Regions from separate parts of the Homo sapiens genome. Here regions 2, 3 and 4 are each linked to region 1. Evidence: promoter capture Hi-C in 16 types of primary human blood cells and fetal thymus (Javierre and others, 2016). All regions are on one chromosome and are shown on one strand. Each heading gives the region's core, a stretch centred on a gene start or on the middle of the fragment in contact. The rest is flanking DNA. Distances are from core to core; before and after follow the strand shown.

Region 1 (3,743 bases), core at 924-3,423:
CACTACCTTCTTTCCTGAGCTGCCTCTCTGGCCTTCCCTTGGGAAAGTAGCACAGGCCATTCTGTTCCAGGATCTCCCACACCATTCAGGGTTTTTGTTTTGTTCTCCCCAAGAGAAGCAGGGCTCAGGATCCTTTTTGGCAACTTACTGGTGTATTACTATGTGACTTTTTCCAGTTCCAGAGAACCGAAACCAACTTAAGACAATATTTCCCCAAATAATAACCCCTAAATGACCTGGCTGAACAAGAGAGAAAGGGATGGAGGGCTGGCAAAGTAGGGGTGATGAGGGGGCAAAGGGTGGGAGGAAATATCCCTAGCATCAATAATAAAATCATGTTGGTTATATTTTAAGACTTTATTACTCTACCAGGTCAATTTTATAGATGAGAAGAGAGCAGTCTCCAGACCACTGTGCTGTGGCATGCTCGTATGCCACAAGTTGTTTACAGGCATATCAAGATGTTGATGACCCCAGTTCTTAGGCAACTGGGTACAAACTGGAACGGGTGAAGCTAGTTCTTTCAGCCTAGTCACTTATGCCCAAGATCAGCCTTATCATTGTACAAATATATTAGTCAGAATAAGCTAACTCTTTGTATCAGTTATCTACTGCTGTGTAAGAAACCCAACCTAAAACTTAGTGGCTTACAGCAATATTCATTTTATTTGTTTATGTGTTCTGTGGGTCAACAGTTTGGACTATGTTTAGCTAGGTGGTTTTGCTAATCTTGCTTTGGGTTGCTTACAGAGTTGTGGTCATCCAGCAGCTTTTCTAAGACTAGACTTTCCATTATGGCCTTTTTCACGTCTTGCCCTTGGTGCTGGTGGATGATTGGGCCATAGTTGTCAGTGGGCTAGCCTAAGCTTCTTTACTTTGTGGAAGAAGAATTCTCAGCAGCAAAACAGGCTAAGCCTTAATGCACAAACACCTTTCAAGCCCCTGCTTATCTCGTATTTGCTGATGTCCCAATGGCCAAAGCAAGTTACATAGCCAAAGACAGAGTCCATGTGGGAAGGAAGAATACAAGGGTGTGAACAGAGGAATGTGTGATTCATCAAAGGCCATACCTTTGATGAATTCAACAATTTACCATAATGTTACAAAAAAAAATCTTCCCAAATCTCAGCAGTTTACCACAACTAAGAATTATTTCTTACCCATGTCATATTCCAATGTGGGTTGGTGAGGACACTCTATCACACTCGTTCAGGGAATCGGGAACCTGTTATCTATCTAGTGGTTCCACCGTTGTCTAAGAACTTCCAGAAGACCAGGAAAGACAGAGAAGGGAAGATTCAAGGAAGGTGTTATAGACCAATCCTGGAAGTGGTATACATCAGTTCCAGCAACATTCCAATGGCCGGAACTCAGCCATGTGGCCCCCAGCTAACTGCAGGAGAGTTGGGAAATATAATGCCTAGGAAGAAAAGATACTTCTTGTCACCAAATATTCCGCCCCCTTCTTACCACACACAGAATACACATATACCCTCCCCAGACACCTGGAATTCTATCTAGTCACTGCATCCAGGATCTGTTGTTGATACACAGTCCTCTTTATTAGATCCAGATGTATATCCTCATTGCCAGGTAACTCATGAACTATGTAAATATGTACTACATACCTGCCCCCACTCAGCTACCCTGTGTAGCGTGATAGAGCAAGGGTGGCATACTTGCATTAAAATCTCCCATTCAGAAAAGGGAAGAATGCAAGACACACAACAGTGGCTCATTCTTTAGTATATGTATTTTTTATGATATTTTTCCAAATATTGCATGGGAAATATATACACTAAAAATTATTCGTTTATCTGAAATGCAAATTATTAAGCATTCTGTATTTTTATTTGCTAAATCTGGCAACCCTCCTCCCACTAAAATATAAACTCCATGAAGGTAGGAACCTTGGCTCTCTGGTTCTCCAATGTACATCGAAGGCGTGGCATAATGCCAGGTCCACAGTAGAAGCCCATACATGCTTACTGCAGGAATTAATGAAGGACTAAACGAAGTAGCAAGTGAGTGAATAAGAAGATGAGGAGCGACCCTTGGTGGGCGGCGCGGGAAGAGAACCGCACCATAGCTCCGCAGACAGCCTCCTTTAGGCGCGCAGCGGCGGCCGCGCTGAGGTCACGGGCGCCGGCCCTGGTGACGTCATTACGCCCGCGCTCCTCGCCTGGCCGTGATATCAATGGCGCAGGCTTCACTTCTGCTGTGGCGGTGACTGAGGCCTTTCTGGTGACCTCAGCCCAACACAGGCCGTCTCCGGAGCTTCCCGGTAGTGGCCCCGGATTCCCACGGTCTTTGTCATTGGCTGTCAGCTAGCAGGCCTGGCCGCTCCCGTGCGGAGAGACCATCTCTTCAGGGCAATGTCCAGGCCGAGCAGCGTCTCCCCGCGGCAGCCGGCTCCTGGCGGTGGCGGAGGCGGCGGCCCCTCGCCTTGTGGCCCTGGGGGCGGCGGCCGGGCCAAGGGGCTGAAGGACATTCGCATTGATGAGGAGGTGAAGATCGCAGTCAATATCGCGCTGGAGCGCTTCCGATACGGGGACCAGAGAGGTGAGGTTCCGGACAGGGACCATGCTGGCAGTCAGGATACCCCCCTCACCCCAGCGCCCCCCAAACGGCGGCCCACCGAGTGATGGGGGTGCCTCCGAAGAGGGAGGGAAGACCCGGGCCACCGTCCGGGGCGGGCCTCAGCGGCGGCACCCGGGTCTGGAACGCGGCTGTTGGCCCTGCGGTGGAATGCGAGGTGCTCTGCGGATCAATGGGGTTATGGGCACTTTGCTCCCTAGCTGAAAGTGTTTTTCCCCCGCGTCTTTCAGCAGCCTTGGGCGGTTAAGCCACCGTGTTTCAGATATTGGTTAGCCCTAACCCTTTTTAAGGGGGTGTCACCTAATTGTGGCACGTTTAAGCTACAGATGTAGAAGAGCAGAAAGAAATCAAACATATAAATAAATGCACCAGCAATACGTTTGGACCCTGAAGCATCACGCTACCCACTTAAATTAAACTTGTTTGGCACACGAAGCATCTTCCACACCTCTTGAGGTTAGATAGCCACTTGTCTTGGGTCATATAATGCAGAACCAGCAACTGACCTGCGGTGACCTGTGCAGTCTGTTGAGGGCTCATTCGGACCTGCTGGCTTAGTTAGGGGACCTCTTACTCTGGAATCTTATAGTCCAAAACGGGGAATGTTCTAGACAGAGAGATTCTAAATTCACATTAAAAAAAGAGAAAGCCTCAGCAATATATAACAAATCCCTCTGAAATAGTGAAATACGAATTCTGTACAGTTTTGAAAGCAAAGACAATGGAGTTTCATGTTGAGAATTCATAATATTTGAACATATCTCATCATTGAAGAAAATAAACATTTTGTTAACTAAACAAGTAGGGACCAAGTTAAATATGTTCAGTCATTATACCAACTCAAAATTCCAGAACAAGTAAGAGGAGTCGTTTTTGGTGAATATCAGAGGCCTTTATCACATTTAGGTTTAATACATAGCTGTCTTTTTATTAATATCAGAATTCTGATAGACATTCAGTAGTTATTGAATTAATAAAATATCTTAATTTTATTAATTTACATAAATAGAATATGAAATATAAAGTTAACCTCAAATAAAGTATAATAAATTTGATTGTCTATGTATGTTTTTCATATTTTGTATCTGTGTGTTTTACTTGAGAGAAAATTGCCTATCTACAAATTTTACTACTTTGTTTTTTTT
Region 2 (3,743 bases), core at 740-3,239, 2.8 Mb before region 1:
AAGCTTCCTTTATTGCTCACTTAGGCTTTTTTAATACAATCATGTCATTATTTGACATTGCACTATATTTGACAGGATATATTTATCTGTTCTTTGTCTCCCTAAACTAGAATGTCAGTTCTAACAATGCAAGCACCTTGTCTGGCTTATTTATCATTCTATCCTTATTGCTTAAAATAGTATCTGACACGAGATAGGTGCTTAATAAATATATTTTTGTTAAACAACTGTATGGATATACACTTTAAATAATAAATTATTAATCAATAATAATTATTTGATATTTGCATTCCTGCTTATTTTTTTCCTATTATGAGCAAGCATGCCATAAACATATGTATGTTATCCATGCCAGAAACATGTAAAAAACCCCTATATTTGTTTTCTAAGATTTTGGAGTCAAAAAATATGGTTATTTTTACAGTTTTTGATACATAGTGCCAAACTGCTCTCCATCAGAAAGTTATGTTTTATATCACTTCAGAAATTAATGAAAGCTACTTTCTTCTCACCTGGAAAGACAATGTGCATTTTCCCTTTTAAACACCTTAATACGTGAAAGATAATTAAGATTTACCTTTTTTCAATTAGTAAAGGACTTTTTATATGATATTATCTATTTACACTTCCTTTTTTTGTATGAATTGCCTCTACATGTCCTTTGCTCATATTTCTGATTTGCCTTTATTCATTGGTATGAACTCTTTGTACATTAAAGCTACTGTTCCATTGTTTAAACCATGTTAAAATGTCATTTTTCTGTTTGTGATTTGCCTTTCAATTGTGATTACTATATATTTTAAAATTTACTATATGGACATTTAAATTTTATACAGTCAAGAGACTCAACACCTTTGCCCAAGCTGCATCGCAATCAAATTTAAGAATGTCAATTCGTTATTTAAAAATGTTAATTATACATTTTAATGTACGCTATCAAAATATCTCATGTAACCCATAAATATATACACCTACTATACACCCATAAAAAATAAAAAGTGATAAAACCACAGAAAAAAATGTCAGTTCAATCAAAACAAAGTTGATTATCACTCTCAATCAAGGTTCGCATCTGGAAGATCGAGAACTGCACGTCAGAGTTCTCTTGGAAAAGCTCTAGGAATCCTGGGCTTCCAACGAGTTGAAGGAACATAGGATGAAACCATGGAAGTCTTCCTCAGATCTGGGGAGGGAGCCTGGCCCAAGAGCCCGTGGAGCTAATGAAAACAGGTAGTAGGGGACGCTCTACAGTAGTCCTCTCAGTTATTCAATTAGAGGTCCCAATTTTGAACGATATAACTGGGATTTCAATACCCTGAGTGATTTAGACACATCAGAAAAAAATACGACAGAAAACTATAGTTTCTTTACAGCCTTAGAAAAGGAAAACGCGTAATTTCTAACTCCAGGAGGACAGTATTCGAGTACGTGGGTTTCTTTCACCCCCGACGTGCACTTCAACTTTTAAAATGCTTGCTCTGGTGGTCCACAGTACTTTCGCGTTCACTGGGCGGTACCATATCTCTCAATAGATTTGATCCAAAACCCCAAGTGCGGGAGACAAAGCTAGGTGGAACGTTATTAACCCTCCACAACTCCAACCTCTACTAGCTTCCTCGGAGCAGGCGAGGCACCAGGCCCGTGAGAAAACACTGAGATCTGGGGCGTAGCTGTGACATGGGGTATTTCTGGCCGGGATCTCACCGGGTAGGCTCCACCCGCGGGTTATCGGCTCCCTCCAAGAAGCATCTTTGAACTCCTCCCATGCAGGCCCTATTCCTACACCAGTTCTCTTTCTGGAATCTCTTTGGTACTGTGTTTCATTAATCCCACAACCATATTCCCACCTATTCCCTAACGACAACAAACTTTTAAGGTCCAGGTTACCGCCGCGTCTCCCTAGCAACCGTGCCCTTTAATGGTTGCCGGAAGAGGCTATAATCACGTGCTCCGAAGACTTCCGGGTTTCCAACGTGACTTCCGGTTGTCAGAATTTACCCCTGACGCGGCGGCGGCCGACGGGAAGCTGTGTGTGCTTAGGTCGTGGTGGCCCCGGTGGTGGTGGGCTCCGGGCGGGCTCGCGTCATCCTGCCCCCGCTGCGATGCATCCGCGGCGCCCGGACGGATTTGATGGCTTGGGCTACCGGGGTGGTGCCCGGGACGAGCAGGGCTTTGGCGGCGCCTTCCCTGCAAGGTCCTTCAGCACCGGGTCGGACCTGGGCCACTGGGTGACGACTCCCCCAGATATCCCCGGCAGCCGCAACCTGCACTGGGGCGAGAAGAGCCCGCCCTACGGCGTGCCCACCACCTCCACCCCGTACGAAGGCCCCACGGAGGAACCCTTTTCCAGTGGCGGCGGCGGCAGTGTGCAGGGGCAGAGCAGTGGTGAGAAGCATGGGGACCGACACAGGGATGAGGGGTTACTGGGGCCGCGGCTTGCGGCCTGCAGACCCCGGAAGCGGCGCAGAGGATCCCGCCTCCTATTCCTTCTCATCCTATCGCGCGCCACACCCTTTGCCCTCCTTTGGTCCTCTGCCCCTGAGGCTGGCCTCCTCTTCCTCACAAACGAATTCTCCTGGATCAACTCCAAAAAAGACATCTGCCTTAGCTATGGGGTGCATAGCAGGAATTTTTAGAGGTTTTGGTGTCTCAACTGATGGTCTGAGTTAAAAAGGAGATTGGATTATTAACTGTTCCCTGATTCACTTTGGCAGCTCTATTTTCTTGATTTAATTAATTAATTAATGTGTTTACTTGTAGTTTTGTGTTCTGAAAAGAGAAGCCTTTCAGCATAAGCATACTTGGGTTCAAACTTGGTTGTGCCACTCGTAATCTGAACAACTTAACCTCTGTGAGCCCTCAGTTTTCTCATCTTTAAGATGTGTAGAAGAATCCTGTATGGGACACATAGGCTAAAAAAAAAAAGTTTCCTTCCTTTTCCTTTTTGAACACAGGAGTTTTGTCTGCTTTTCAGATCCCCAGTCTAGAAAGTTTCCTTCCTATAATTTTCCTTTCTGCTTTCCTTCTGCTGACCTAAAAACTACATATAAAAGTTAGAAACACTGATACAATTTCAAGATAGGACTTCGGAATCATGACATAATTATTCTCCATGGGATGTCAGAAAAGCTGCAACACTGCATGATGTAGATATTTTCAACATCCTTTTTTATTCATAAAATGTGAATAATGGCTACCTCTTTCTATTCTTCTGGAATTGTTAGAATAATAGATTAATGGTATTAATATTAAATTTATTGTAGAAATCAGCTTTATTCTTATTTCCTCGACTTTGACTTGGAAGTACAATAATATTTAACTAAGAAGAACAGACTAACGAATGTCTAGTGAGTAAATGAGGATGTGAAGAAAGATAGATGACTTACCTAGCTAATTGTCATACAATTAGCTTTTTGACTCTTCCCGGTTTAAAGTTATGCTTTGGTGGTTACAATGAGGAGGAGTTCCTTGACACAAGCAGGGGTTTATTTTGCAGCCTTAACAGGTGGGTGAATGTTAATTTTGCAACAAAGATAGACACCTAAGAGACTTACACAGTAAACAAGATTAAACCTTCCTAACACCTTCCAGAAAATGCTAGTAGCATTTTCTGTTGCTATTTGGGGATGATCTATACATACAAAATGGGTAAGGCCGGGCGTGGTGGCTCACGCCTGTAATCCTAGCACTTTGGGAGGCCAAGGCGGGCGGATCACGAGGTCAGGAGATCGAGACCATCCTGG
Region 3 (3,743 bases), core at 649-3,148, 2.0 Mb after region 1:
GCATTTCACCATGTTGCCCAGGCAAGTGTTGAACTCCTGAGCTCAAGCAATCCACCTGCCTCCCCCTCCCAAAGTGCTGGGACTACACGTGTGTGCCACTACACCCAGCCTCCATCTACTTATTAATGTGAAAACATTTTCTCAGAATTTATAAAAATGAAAAATTGAGAAAACATTGAATCTGAACTTTGTCTCATTCTAGTAAGAAGTAGTATTTAACAATAAATGTGTGCACTTAATTGTAAAACATCACATTTAATAATCAAAAAATTTATATTTTGTATTGTTTTGAATACTTGAAAATTACTAATAAATACAATGATGCCTCAATCTGGAAGAAAATGAGCACCTAGGGTCTTTAGTTATAAGAAACTTAAATTTCAACTTATATGTATTTCTTTATATGTGTGTGTGTGTGTGTGTATATATATATATATATATATATATATATATATGTATATTTTTTTTTTGTGACAGAGTTTTCCCTGTTGTCACCCAGGCTAGAGTGCAATGGCACGATCACGGCTCACTGCAACCTCTGCCTCCCAGGTTCAAGCAATTATCCCTGCCTCAGCCTCCTGAGTAGCTGGGATTACAGGTGCCTGCCACCACGCCCAGTTAATTTTTGTATTTTTTAGTAGAGACGGGGTTTCGCCATGTTGGCCAGGCTGGTCTTGAACTCCTGACCTCAGGTGATCCACCCACCTTGGTCTCCCAAAATGCTGGGATAACAGGCATGAGCCACTGTGCCTGGCTTTTATATGTATTTTCATTGCAGAGAAATATAATAGAGTGATTCATAAAACACATTCAGCTAGGCATAGTGGCTCACGCCTGTAATCCCAGCATTTTGGGAGGCCCAGGCAGGAGGATTGCTTGAGCCCAGAAGTTCAAGACCAGGCTGGGCAACAGAGTGAGACCCTGTCTCTACAAAAAACTTAAAAATTAGCCAAGCATGGAAGTACATGCTTGCAGTCCCAGCTACTCCAGAGGCTGAGGTGGGAGGATCACTTGAGCCTGGGAGGTTGAGGCTTCAGTGAGCTGTGATTGCACCACTGCAGTCTAGCCTAGGTAACAGAGCGAGATACTGTCTCAAAAACAAAAACAAAAAACATATTCAAACATAAAAGTACATTAATTAGGATATATTCCTGAGGAATGGGATGTGGAATGGAATTATAAATGCGAAGAGAAAATAAATTATGTAAAAATATCCTATAGGTAAATAATAATTTGTTCATATATTTTTTTAAATGGTTCATAGTAAGCATAACTGCTATGATATTTAGATTTCGTTGGATTCATTTAAAAGCATGTTTTATTTAAAAATGTTAATTTTTACATTTTGCGGAAAATTGCAACCTTTGCGAATACTTAAACTTATGATGAAAAATTTTAGGTGACAATTGAAAAATATGTAGGAGGGTAGATAGCATCTCATGTGCATGAGTAAAAATGTTTGAAGACTTAATTGAAATGTTTGGAGACTTATTCACAACCCCCTATTGGAAGTCATTTCCATTTCTAAAGAACATTTGTTCTTCCAATCTTTGATTTTTTTTTTCTTAAATAGAAAATCAACTAAATTTCCTTTTATATAGATTTTACATTGTGTTTCTAAATGCCCACCTCTTTTCTACCTTCCATCAATGGGAGGGACAACTTTTTTGTTTGGTTTGGTTGGTTTGCTTTGGATTGGTTTGGTTATTAAGACTTTGATGTCTGGTTAAATCAGCAATTACTGTCTTCCTGAAAGCCACAGAATGCTACTGGGGCATAACAGGAAGACTCATTTTTAAGGGGTCTGTAGGGGGAGCCAAAGACTGGAAAAGGGGAAAGGGACCAGAGACAGCCTCTGAATTACCCATTCAGGTAAGTACCCAGAGATGACAGACAAAAAGGGGAACCACTTCCGGGAGCCAAGGTGAATATTCAGGCTTCCCCGACGGGGGAGCAAAGTGTTACTTGCATCCAGAGCATTTCCCTAGGCCCAAGGCTTTATAATGTAAGCCCAGAGGAGACATTACCCCTTACCTGAAAGGCTGATGGGGAGGAGGAATTGGATCAGCAAAAAGGGGACACCCTAATTATAGAACAATGAACATTTTCAGGCCTATAAGTTGTTTTCTTCTTCTCACATATTGCCTTGGGATAAATTTCCAAGAGTTGGATTACAGAATGTCTTTTTGGCTTTTCATATACATTGTTATACTATTTCCTAGAAGACTTAGACCAATCTGTCACCACCAGCAAGGCACTATTGACTTCACCAAACATTGAACCCACTTGATATTATATTTTTTGAAAATTCTTACTGGTTTTGTATGTGTTAAATGATACCGCCAAGTTTCCCAAATTTACCTGGCTACCCTTGGGATTTTTTTGGTCTGTGCAATATCCTTGAATTAGTAGAACATTCCTTCTATAGTATTCCTTCTGGGGATTGTCAAACATTTAATTCCTGCCAGTCTATATTTAAACCAGAAACCTCAGTGAAACAGTTTGCTTGCACGGTTTTGGTATACTTTGGTAACTTGTTCTAATTTGAGAAATGGCCAGGATGAATTTTTTTTAAATCTCTAGTTTTTGGTAACTAACTGGGCATAGTTCTATTTAGAAAAGTATGAAAAGAATCTACTTTCATGAATTTAAAAGTTACACAAAAATAGCATAGCAAGGTGTACGCTTCTTGTGCTATTTAGAAATGTCTTTCTCATATAAGTCCGCTTTATTAACACTGATAATTTGCTCAAGGTGAGATATTTTAATTGTCATAAATTCATTCACCACCTTAAAAATTATTGAATCCTGGAATCCCAGCACTTTGGGAGGTCTAGGCTGTCAGACTGCTTGAGCTCAGGAGTTCAAGACCAGTCTGGGCAACATAGCAAAACTCCATTTCTACAAAAAATACAAAAATTAGGCAGGCATGGTGATGCACACCTGTAGTCCCAGCTACTCAGGAGGGTGAGGTGAGAGGATGGCTTGAGTCTGGGAAGCGGAGGTTGCAGTGAGCTGAGATTGCGCCACTGCACTCCAGCCTGAGTGACAGAGCCAGACCCTGTCTAAAAACAAAACAAAACAACAACAAAAAAAACCCCAATAAAACAAAGTTATGGAATCCTATTATGTACTATGTTAGATACTGGATGAATATGACATAATCTCTACTTTTGAGGAATTGATGGTCTGTAGGAGAAATGTAGCTATAAACAGATGAAAACAAAATATGTGTATAAACAACAGTGAGAGCCCAAAGAACAGAGCTGCTAACTCTGCTTGAGCAAATCTGGGAAGGAGGTGAAGGTTAAATGGAATTTTAAAGGATTAGTAGGAGGAAGCCTAGCCAAAAGTCAGCAGGAGGGGGGTGGGAGGGGGCACCATCCAGAATGCTGGAGCTGAGAGAACACGTGAGATGTTCCCTTCTTTCTTCCTGCTTCCCCCGTGCCAGGGAGAGAGTGGTGCCCTAAGCTACCCTCTGAACGACCAAAAATCCCTACTCCCCTCACTCAAAGTGTATCCTAATATTAACACACCATTTCCTATTCCTACAGCTCAACCAGCTTTCATATTTTCTTCATGCAGCTTCTCTCTTGCAGGTTTTAGGAGGAGTGAGACCCCACTTAAGGTTATTTACTTAAAGCAAGAATACTTCCTTGGGGTACTAGCATTTTAAAAAGGAAACTTGTGAACCCAAATTAATTTTAAAATTGTAGAAATATGCACGCAAGAATTCTTTTAGC
Region 4 (3,743 bases), core at 845-3,344, 2.0 Mb before region 1:
TTTCCTCATCATTTCCCAAGTAATTCTGAATATCAGAATAGCTAGAGCACTTAACTAGAAGTGTCCTGGGTTCTAGAATTAGTTCTAGCAACACTCAAGTCACCTATGTAATAGTTTGGGCAAGTCACATTAGTAAAAAGGAATACTAACTAGCTACCTTCATAGGCTTTTTGATATACCTGAAACTATTCCAAACTCTCAAGTACTACACTTTCTTAAATTAATAATGATACATTTTATTTGCTGACTTAAGAGGCCATTCTTTAGGTTCTAGTTGCCATGAGCCTATTCTCTTGTCTAATATCCAAAGAGCTAATGAAAGCAGTATAGGATTACCACTGATGCATTTCTTCCTCTGTGTGACATTAGACTATCAACTTTATTAGCTCAATTATTTTTCTTGCATATCCATCCAAAGTATGGTCTTTGTCCATATTGTTCCATTTAATTTTAAAAGTCATCAACCAATTCATTAGATAGAAGATATACCCCAAATATAAGTAATTGAACTAATTTACCGTTTTCTTAGCAACTCGCCACTTATCTTCTTCAATGCTATGGTACTGGATGAGAGTGTTTTTAAGTTTAGTTGCAAAAGAAGCAACATCAGACAGGCCTTCCATTACTTCTCTCTGTTATGGAGACCAAGATTAGCATCAGCAAATACCACAGTTTGAGGCAATAGGCCAGTGGGTCTCGAATCTGGTTTCACAATATAATAACCTACCAGAGCTATAAAAGATAGCTACCCTCACCCCAAATCAACTAATCATAATCTCTGAGAGTAGGACCCGGGCATAGTTTTTTTCTAATTGCTCCCAAGATGAATAACCCATAGCCAGAGGTGAGAATTACATATTTTTTACAATTAAAATCACTCATACAGAAAGTAGAAGAGAAGACAGGAGGAAGGGGAAGCAATTGTATCTCATATATAGATATGCTGTTAACTCTCAAACATTTACCTCCAGTCCTCTTTGTTTCAATGAGCTCAAAAATCCCAGATCCAGAAGCCTACTTAAAGCTTCAAGCCTAAAGGGAATCTCTTGCCTCCCCTGGCTTCCCTCAATTTGTCACAGTATTCCTCATTTTAACAATTTACTATTAAAATGGCAATTGAGCCCAAGTTCTCAAGTCAAAAGGCTTGGAATTGCCCTTAATAAGAATAGGTTCCTTTTAACACCATCATACCTCATTGTCTACAGTATTCTACACTGGTTTTCTTTCTGTCCCTCAAACAGGCTAGCTTATCGCTGACTTGTGGTCTTTGATACGGCTAGATCCCAAATCTTAGCATCACTAATAACAATGTAATGCCAATTTCAGTTTAAACCTCCTATCCTTCATAAAGCCTTCTTAAGTTACTATTACATCGTTATTTTCTTCATAGTGCTTATCATTATCTGACAATATAATAACTTATTTATAGGTGTATGATTCTACTCTTTGACCACCTCATTCCTAACTAATAGCATAGAGGTCCTTTTCTTATTCACCACTATAACTCCACCACCTAGAACACTGCCTGGCACATAGTAGGCCCTTATTTTGTTGATATGTTATTGTCTCAAAACAAGAATTACTTGGTCTTTGTCTTCTTTTGGTGCCAGGGCACCAATTTCTTAGCATAATTCCTACTTTTCACTATTCTATCTCTATTCCTCCCATCTTCAGTAAAAGGCTAAAGAAGAAAAGAGTTTTAGGGGTAAAGTTGCCCATTACAGAACCATCAAATTGCTGGAAAGGAGGTCAAGAAAACATCTAAATGAAATCTCCTAATCTAAATGAAATCACCCTCTATGGGAATAAGGCTGCAGTTGTCAACTATGGATGCACACATCAGAATCACCTTTTTATGCTTTGTACTAGTTGTCGCTGCTTTTAGGTGTTAGATTTTAGGGCCCAGTGCCAAATAGTCTAATTCAGTGGCTTTGTTCTGGAATGGGCCTCAGAAATGTAGGTCCTTTAAAATAGTCTCACTAATTATTCTGTTGTCTAGCCAGAGATCAGAACTAACTGATCTAAAAATTAAAGTGACAGAAATAAATTAAGGTTGTAGCCAATATTTAAATACCACTAATTAGAGCATATAAGCCATTAAAATTTATAAATACTAAAATTATGTAGAAACATGGGAAAGTATACAAAGAAAATTCAATATAACTTTTAGGATCTATGTAAGTGATGCAAAATATATAATAAGTATAGATCCAATCCACGGATGAAAAGTTGATGAGCTCATTCAAAAAGTCTCTCAGTCAAGAATATACCTAATTTCCATTCAAGAGGCTGTCAACTTGATAGCCAGTTCAATAACTTTATTCAAGAGTATGCCACAAACAAGCAGAAGTTCTTGCAGAAGGCTTGTAAAAGAGATTTAATTTATCTATTACAGGGATCACTATGATTAAACATATTCTTTAAACCCAAAGGTCACCTGCTAGGTTCCTGTGGTTGGCAGATAAGAGTATTTATGCAAAACTTTTTGATAGAAATCAAAGGTGAAACAGAAAGTTATTATTATCATAAGCAAACATTATCACTGGGCAAATCCAGTGCACGGAAAGTTACCTAGAAAGCTAGCTACCTAGAAGAGATGAGAATCTGCAACTTTAAGGTACTTGACTTAGTAATTCATACTGATCAGTATAAAGTTCAAGCTCCTTACTATAGCTTACAGGCCCTTTTATAATGTGGCATATTTTCATTACCTAATTTCCACTTATCTTTCCTGGATTCCCCTGAACCTGGGTTAGTTCCCCCTCCAATATTTTCTGACAGCAACTCTGTACTGTAATTATTCACTTGTTATCTTCTCCCGTTTAACTGTAAAATCTTTGGGGGGTAGGAAATCTGGCTTGTTCAATATTAATTCTCCTTACGTCTAGCACTCAGTAGGAACACAGTGAATAAAAAATGGAAAAATGTATAGACAATAAGCTACCATTCTCACTTATGGAAGACCTCAAGATATCTAAAGTATGCCCATTTACGCCAATCCTAGAGCTTCTGAATAACTAAAACTTCCTTTACCATAATGAAACACCATTTCTCAAGAAGGACTACTATTAAATATTTATCAAGCATCTATTATATACCAGGTCCTAGAACTACAGAAACAGATGGAATTCAGATTTTACTCTCAAATTGACTTATTCCACCCTTAAGCTTTAACAGAAATAACAACAACAAAAACTAAAACATTAAAAAATTCTATTAATAGCCTTTTTAAGAGTGGTGCAGTGGGAGGTAGGAAAGGAAGAGAAAGAAGTACAAAATCAGAAAGCTCTCTCTGATTAAATATGTCCAGCAATGTATTTAACCAAACAGTTAAGTCTTGCATGGATTATTTTCATCAAGATTAAGTCCATAATGAAATAATCATTGCCATCAAAACTGCTACCTCTGTGTAAACAGGCATAATTGAGCATTTCTCAAAATATTAATATATTCTAGAACCAAGAGGGTTGGGGGAGATGGGTTATCAAGGTCTTGGCTCTCTCTCCTAATATAACAGGGTACTGACATTAATTGAGAGGAAAACACCTAATTTGCCCTCCTGCAATCTCCAACTGTGGAGAATGTCAGGTAAATGTTTTAAATGCCATTCTGAACCCATTCTGAACTTCCTTTTACTAATTCAGTCTTTTATTCCCTTATCTTGACCTTATATCAGGAAATTATCCAACTCTAACATTTACACGTCAGAGAGAACAGGCACCACTTAACCTTATCAGAATATA

Evidence for each region. Contacts are between HindIII fragments. The CHiCAGO score rates a contact against its expected background, and 5 or more counts as called.
Region 2: a contact is called between the fragment with the promoter of SLC25A46 here and the fragment with the promoter of YTHDC2 in region 1, in 3 of 17 cell types (total B cells, naive CD8 T cells and naive B cells). The highest score is 5.7, in total B cells.
Region 3: a contact is called between a fragment that was not itself captured here and the fragment with the promoter of YTHDC2 in region 1, in 4 of 17 cell types (naive CD4 T cells, naive CD8 T cells, fetal thymus and 1 more). The highest score is 8.1, in naive CD4 T cells.
Region 4: a contact is called between a fragment that was not itself captured here and the fragment with the promoter of YTHDC2 in region 1, in 1 of 17 cell types (total B cells). The highest score is 5.0, in total B cells.

The regions. Positions count from the first base shown.
Region 1 is chr5:113,511,521-113,515,263 of GRCh38, forward strand. YTHDC2 (YTH N6-methyladenosine RNA binding protein C2) reads left to right here and starts at 2,174. Exons shown (of 30, transcript NM_022828.5): 1 at 2,174-2,562. The coding sequence starts at 2,376. LOC124901046 (a long non-coding RNA gene) reads right to left here and starts at 2,138. Exons shown (of 2, transcript XR_007058905.1): 1 at 1,911-2,138; 2 at 339-1,420. RefSeq lists enhancers at 1,930-1,979, 1,976-2,477 and a silencer at 2,430-2,659. The HindIII fragment of the contact is 3,291 bases long and covers 865-3,743 here.
Region 2 is chr5:110,737,018-110,740,760 of GRCh38, forward strand. It overlaps SLC25A46 (solute carrier family 25 member 46), which reads left to right and starts at 1,990. Exons shown (of 8, transcript NM_138773.4): 1 at 1,990-2,385. The coding sequence starts at 2,103. It also overlaps a transcript of TMEM232 not described here. RefSeq lists enhancers at 1,573-1,622, 1,873-2,002, 2,013-2,082, 3,327-3,743. The HindIII fragment of the contact is 3,989 bases long and covers 2-3,743 here.
Region 3 is chr5:115,547,516-115,551,258 of GRCh38, forward strand. No RefSeq gene overlaps it. Among named protein-coding and RNA genes, the nearest start is that of FEM1C, 4.6 kb to the left of the region's middle. The HindIII fragment of the contact is 7,329 bases long and covers 1-3,743 here.
Region 4 is chr5:111,506,811-111,510,553 of GRCh38, forward strand. STARD4 (StAR related lipid transfer domain containing 4) reads right to left here. Exons shown (of 6, transcript NM_139164.3): 2 at 519-632. The coding sequence starts at 623. Among named protein-coding and RNA genes, the nearest start is that of STARD4-AS1, 3.5 kb to the right of the region's middle. RefSeq lists an enhancer at 2,374-2,493. The HindIII fragment of the contact is 2,144 bases long and covers 1,023-3,166 here.